Linked DNA regions of Homo sapiens: region 1 is linked to region 2. The links are contacts of gene promoters, found by promoter capture Hi-C in blood cells and fetal thymus (Javierre and others, 2016). All regions are on one chromosome and are shown on one strand. The core of a region is centred on a gene start or on the middle of the fragment in contact, and the rest is flanking DNA. Distances in the headings are between cores, read along the strand shown.

What was found. The method cuts DNA at HindIII sites, captures the fragments that hold promoters and counts their contacts. A CHiCAGO score of 5 or more calls a contact.
Region 1: a contact is called between a fragment that was not itself captured here and the fragment with the promoter of ZBTB7B in region 2, in 1 of 17 cell types (naive B cells). The highest score is 5.1, in naive B cells.

Annotation. Positions count from the first base shown.
Region 1 is chr1:154,601,130-154,604,124 of GRCh38, reverse strand. ADAR (adenosine deaminase RNA specific) reads left to right here. Exons shown (of 15, transcript NM_001111.5): 2 at 1,499-2,995. Among named protein-coding and RNA genes, the nearest start is that of ADAR, 5.6 kb to the left of the region's middle. The HindIII fragment of the contact is 3,398 bases long and covers 1-2,995 here.
Region 2 is chr1:155,001,322-155,004,281 of GRCh38, reverse strand. ZBTB7B (zinc finger and BTB domain containing 7B) reads right to left here and starts at 1,480. Exons shown (of 3, transcript NM_001256455.2): 1 at 1,339-1,480. RefSeq lists silencers at 212-331, 2,042-2,231, 2,342-2,581. The HindIII fragment of the contact is 14,435 bases long and covers 1-2,960 here.

The DNA of each region.
Region 1 (2,995 bases), core at 384-2,883, 400 kb after region 2:
AGAGCTGTCTGGCCCTTTATAGAAAAAGTTTATCAGCCACTGGAAAAGAGTTGCAGGATTTGAGGTCTTGGTGTGATGGCCTAGGTTAGAGTCATAGTGAGATTGAAGGAGTAGCTAGACAAGCCAATTGTGTGGCAGAAAGGTAGGGATGGAGATCACTGGGTTAAGGATCCTTGTAGCCAGGACACCATGAGAGTGATTGACAAGAATGCTGAAATCCCCTAAGTGTGTCAGGATGTGGAAGAGTAGAAGGCTAGAGTTATGGAAGAAAGGGTCCCACCTCTACCTGTGCAGCCTCCAGGAGAGTCTGAGGAGGGGGCGGTGAGTGTGAGTAAATGTTGTCAGAATCCCTCCTCCCAGTCTACAAGCCCCAGGGAAAGGAAGCAAGGTGTTTACTGACACCCCCAGGCTTATAAGTACTTCCTGGCTCCATCACCCTCCAGTGAACAGCCCTGGGGAGAAGACAGTACTGGTTTGCAGGTGGGTGGGTGGGGAAAGGGGTCACAGGTGCTTGGTGTTCTGGTAAATGTGCATATGAGAACATGGGGTTGCTTGTGCCCTGTCCGTCAGGGTTCAGAAGAACGTGCAGTGGAAGCAGCTATGGGGAAGTAGCTAGGGAAGGTAGGACTGGTCTGAGGTGGTGAGGAGCAGATGCTGCCAGCTCCACACATCCAGGAGAGCCTGGGTGGTTTGGGCAAAAGTCTCTGGCATCCCTTCTGAGCCTGGGTACCACACTGAAGAGTGAGGACAGTGTGCCATTTTTATCAGGAAACCCTCCAGCTCCCTGAAGACCAAATTCTGATCCTCCTGGGATGGCAGTGAAGAGCCACAGAGATGACTCTGAGGTCCCGTGGCCTTTTCCCACCTGGAGATTGTTTTCGTTACTGCGCTGTTACAGCCTTGGAGGACTGGGGTTCAGTTTCATCCAATCACATTTCTTCTTTTGTCATAGTCATCTAAACGATAGATCTTAGAGACAGGTGGGCAAGGGGTGCACTGGTGAGCCTGACTTAAGGAGAGGTCATCTCGTCCCTTCCCTAGTCCCATCTCCCTTGGTTATTGTTATTTCATGTGATTGTTCTGGTTATTTCAGGTTATTCTGTTTTTGTTTTCAAAACAATAACATATATTTGTTGTTCTGATTTTAAAGGGGTAATTGTTTTGGTAACTAGAAAATTACCTTCTCAACTCCCTTAAATTCTGTCAAAGGGAAAAGTAAGTTAGGTTGCTGGAGAGGCTATGCTGAGGCCTCAGAACCTCTGTATTCCTGGAAGTTCTGCGTGCTTTGCCTCCTGCTCCCCTCTCTGTGTTCCTGTTGGCAGGCCCCTAGGCAGGATTTAGGAGGTAGGCAAGTCACCCTAGCCAAGTCATAAGCCCATGGCTCAATTGCCTTCTCAGCCCTTCAAGGGCTGTTCCACAGGCAGCAAAGGGAGGGGCCTCCACAGGTTCACCACTGCAGCCCTAATTCATTTTCTTTTTCCACTGTCTTATTCTGCAGGGGTATTCCCTCAGCGGATACTACACCCATCCATTTCAAGGCTATGAGCACAGACAGCTCAGGTACCAGCAGCCTGGGCCAGGATCTTCCCCCAGTAGTTTCCTGCTTAAGCAAATAGAATTTCTCAAGGGGCAGCTCCCAGAAGCACCGGTGATTGGAAAGCAGACACCGTCACTGCCACCTTCCCTCCCAGGACTCCGGCCAAGGTTTCCAGTACTACTTGCCTCCAGTACCAGAGGCAGGCAAGTGGACATCAGGGGTGTCCCCAGGGGCGTGCATCTCAGAAGTCAGGGGCTCCAGAGAGGGTTCCAGCATCCTTCACCACGTGGCAGGAGTCTGCCACAGAGAGGTGTTGATTGCCTTTCCTCACATTTCCAGGAACTGAGTATCTACCAAGATCAGGAACAAAGGATCTTAAAGTTCCTGGAAGAGCTTGGGGAAGGGAAGGCCACCACAGCACATGATCTGTCTGGGAAACTTGGGACTCCGAAGAAAGAAATCAATCGAGTTTTATACTCCCTGGCAAAGAAGGGCAAGCTACAGAAAGAGGCAGGAACACCCCCTTTGTGGAAAATCGCGGTCTCCACTCAGGCTTGGAACCAGCACAGCGGAGTGGTAAGACCAGACGGTCATAGCCAAGGAGCCCCAAACTCAGACCCGAGTTTGGAACCGGAAGACAGAAACTCCACATCTGTCTCAGAAGATCTTCTTGAGCCTTTTATTGCAGTCTCAGCTCAGGCTTGGAACCAGCACAGCGGAGTGGTAAGACCAGACAGTCATAGCCAAGGATCCCCAAACTCAGACCCAGGTTTGGAACCTGAAGACAGCAACTCCACATCTGCCTTGGAAGATCCTCTTGAGTTTTTAGACATGGCCGAGATCAAGGAGAAAATCTGCGACTATCTCTTCAATGTGTCTGACTCCTCTGCCCTGAATTTGGCTAAAAATATTGGCCTTACCAAGGCCCGAGATATAAATGCTGTGCTAATTGACATGGAAAGGCAGGGGGATGTCTATAGACAAGGGACAACCCCTCCCATATGGCATTTGACAGACAAGAAGCGAGAGAGGATGCAAATCAAGAGAAATACGAACAGTGTTCCTGAAACCGCTCCAGCTGCAATCCCTGAGACCAAAAGAAACGCAGAGTTCCTCACCTGTAATATACCCACATCAAATGCCTCAAATAACATGGTAACCACAGAAAAAGTGGAGAATGGGCAGGAACCTGTCATAAAGTTAGAAAACAGGCAAGAGGCCAGACCAGAACCAGCAAGACTGAAACCACCTGTTCATTACAATGGCCCCTCAAAAGCAGGGTATGTTGACTTTGAAAATGGCCAGTGGGCCACAGATGACATCCCAGATGACTTGAATAGTATCCGCGCAGCACCAGGTGAGTTTCGAGCCATCATGGAGATGCCCTCCTTCTACAGTCATGGCTTGCCACGGTGTTCACCCTACAAGAAACTGACAGAGTGCCAGCTGAAGAACCCC
Region 2 (2,960 bases), core at 231-2,730:
GCTAGGGGTCTCCAAGGCATTCGGGCGGGGGTCAATTCAAGAACACCCTCCACCTGGCCCGGAAGCCTGGACAGCCTGCCGGTCTCCCCCTCTCCCCAGCACCCACTTCCGGTGTCCCAAACTAGGTCAGCAGCGCTCGTTTCCTGTGGGTCAGCTAGCACCGGCGCCTCTGCCCCTCCCCTGCTCCGGACCCAGGCTCCCCGCCCCCCTGCCCCCCAGGGCGCCCCGAGGTCTCACCATGTCTCAGCCGCCCTTTGATACGTGGGGGTTGTGCGGGGCGGGGGGCAGGGGACCCGCCCTCTCTCTAAACACCAGCAGGGCCGGGGCGCCTGGGCAGGCACGTGTCCGGGCACAACCCGCTGCCCACGCCGCCCCCCCACTCCCGCCCCCACCTCGCTCTGGCCGGGACACGTCGCTCTCTTACTTGGGATGGGGTGGGAGGAGGGAGAGAAAGCTGGAAATTGAAAGCAGCGCCCCCCACCCCTTTGAATGGCAGCCTTCTGCCAGGCGCACTCTGTAGGTTCTACAACAACACAGTAGCGACCCCCACTCTGGGCTGGGGCAGGTGCGCCGGCGCCGGTGGGGGGACGGGTAGTAGGTAGGAGAATTCTTCCTAGTCACCCGCCCTCGCTCTTGGGTTCTGTGGTCATGAGCTGGCGTGGAAAAGGTAGCGGCGGGACTGGAGCCTGAAGGAAGGGAGTGGGATTGAGGGGCAGGGAAGAGAGCGGTCGTTCTATGTCGGTTCAGAGGTTGTTGCTGAGCCCCACTACCGCTGGAGAGAGCGCGGCTCTGGAAGCGCAAGAAACCGAATAGTCCAGCCGGTAACTTTCCCCCAAGCCGCGGCTCCTCCTGCGCCCCCCCAACCCCCATGCAACTGGCCTGGGGCCAATCCACCGCGCCAGGGGGCGCGGGGTGGGGGGGGGGTGCGCGTTGTCCTAGTTAGAGTCCGTCAGCGTTTCCATTCCCTCAACTCAGTCCGGTCTGGGGTCTCCCCCTAAAGTCACGAAGGAGACTGGGGGAACGCTCAGCGTCGCCTCACCCCCTCTCCATCCCGAAGCCGTCTGTCTGTCTGATCCCAGGAGAAGTGCAGATAAACTTTCTGGGGACCCTCCGCCTAGGGTTGGGGGGCATCCGCAGTTCCTTCTCTGTCTTTCATCTCAGTTAAAACCAATTCCAGAGACCCGGGGTGTTGGGAAAGCACAGGGAAGGGGAGTGGTGGGAATGTGATCTGCATGCGTGTGTATCTGGGGGTCCCACTTACAGGACGGACGAAGGACACTGCAGTAGTCTCGAGCCTAGTGAACCCCGAGCCAGGAGACAAAAGTGGGGTACACTCACCTCTCAGCCGTCGGGTCCGCTGGCTGGAGCTGCTGAGGCTCACAGTGTGGGAAGAAGCGCGTCCCCCACCAGGCCCGGGGGCTTGGGGCCCTGCTCCGGTCCTGGTCAGAAGGCCGCGGTCAGTTGCTCGCCGCTCGCTGCTGGGGGGCTCCTCCTCCGCCGCCCTCTGCCTCCTCCTGCCGCCCGCCCCCCCTCGGCCGCCAAGAGCCGTACATTCACCTGGCTCCCACCCGCCCCCCCCTCAGGGCCCGCCTCACCTGTCCTGCTGTCTCACCTGTCCTCCAGCTTGCTTTCCCCCCATCCCTCCCCTCCCTCCCCCCGCCCCTGCCACCCCCCAAACTCCCCCCCCCCAACACTTAGAAACACCCTCTGTCACTTCCTGGTTTTTCACCCGCCCCCCCAGGCCCCCTCCCTCCGCCCAATAAGGACATAAACTTCAACCCCTTCGTCCAGCCAGTCCCTGCAGAGCGCAGATGGGTCCCTCCCTCCTTTTTTGCCCCCTTCTCCAAACTCTTACTTAGCTCTCCTAGCCTTTCCCACCCTCCTCCTTTCCCTCCTTCTTTCCTTCTCTCTGTCTCCCTTCACCTGCCGCGGTCCCTCTCTCCCCCCCCTTTCTCCTGCCCCTATCTCTCCCAGTCCACCTTAACTCAAACTCCGCCCCCGGCCCCCATCCAGCCCTTTGCTGCTGCTCTGCCCGCCCCCTGCACGCCACCGCCCTGTCCGCTCATTGGCCTGAATACCCGCTCATCTCCAGTAGGTCTCGCCTTGCGTTCGTCCAGGGAGGGGGCGGAGCCGAGGGGCTGGCCTGGAACCTGGAGAGGAGGGGGGAGGGGGCAGTGTCCGCAGCGGCCAGGGAATCGAGCACCCCCTACAGGGGCTCCCTCTCCTTCAAGAGGGGCTTCTGTAGGGTCAGGACCTCAGGAGGGAAGGGTATGAGAGGTTAGGGATAGGCTGGGTGGGGGTGAATTGGGGACTTAGGGTCTTGAGGGAGGGGGTCCCGTGAGGGGCTGTAATCAGGTCAGGGACCTAGAAGGGAGGGGGAGGGGGAGCCACCAGGCCTTCGGCTCCGGCCCCTACGCCCCACCCCCTCTCGGAGGGAGCCGGGGAGTTGAGCCTGCGGGCGCCCTGCGTCCCTCCCCACGCGTGACGGTGCCCCGCGGGGAGGGAAGGGCGCCCCAGGCAAGCAGCCTCTGTGCTGTCGCCAGTGCCCGCTGCGGCCTTGGCATTGTCGGAGGGGAGGGGCCCAGTCTGCGAAGGGGGAGGGGGCGCGCCGACGCTTTTGCTCCCCACCTCCATCCCGCGGGTTCCCTAAGTGGAGAAACTGAGTCTCCACCGAGGAGGGATAGCTTGACATGAATTCGCTGAGAGACCCAGGTGGCGAGGGGTGCCTGGATGTTTTGGGATGTGTGGTATGTGTAGGTTTTGGGGAGGACCGGGATAAATACTTAGGAGTCCCCCAACTGAGAAAGGTAGCGGGTGAAGGATGTTTCTGACTGAGCCTGCGGAGCTGCGTACCCCAAAGGGCCCCTCCCACTAGTGTCAAATGGAATCAAATCCGGCTACCTAGGGCCAGGTTTGGCTCCCCTGCGACAAGCCAGGCCGAACCGGGTCGGACTCGCTTT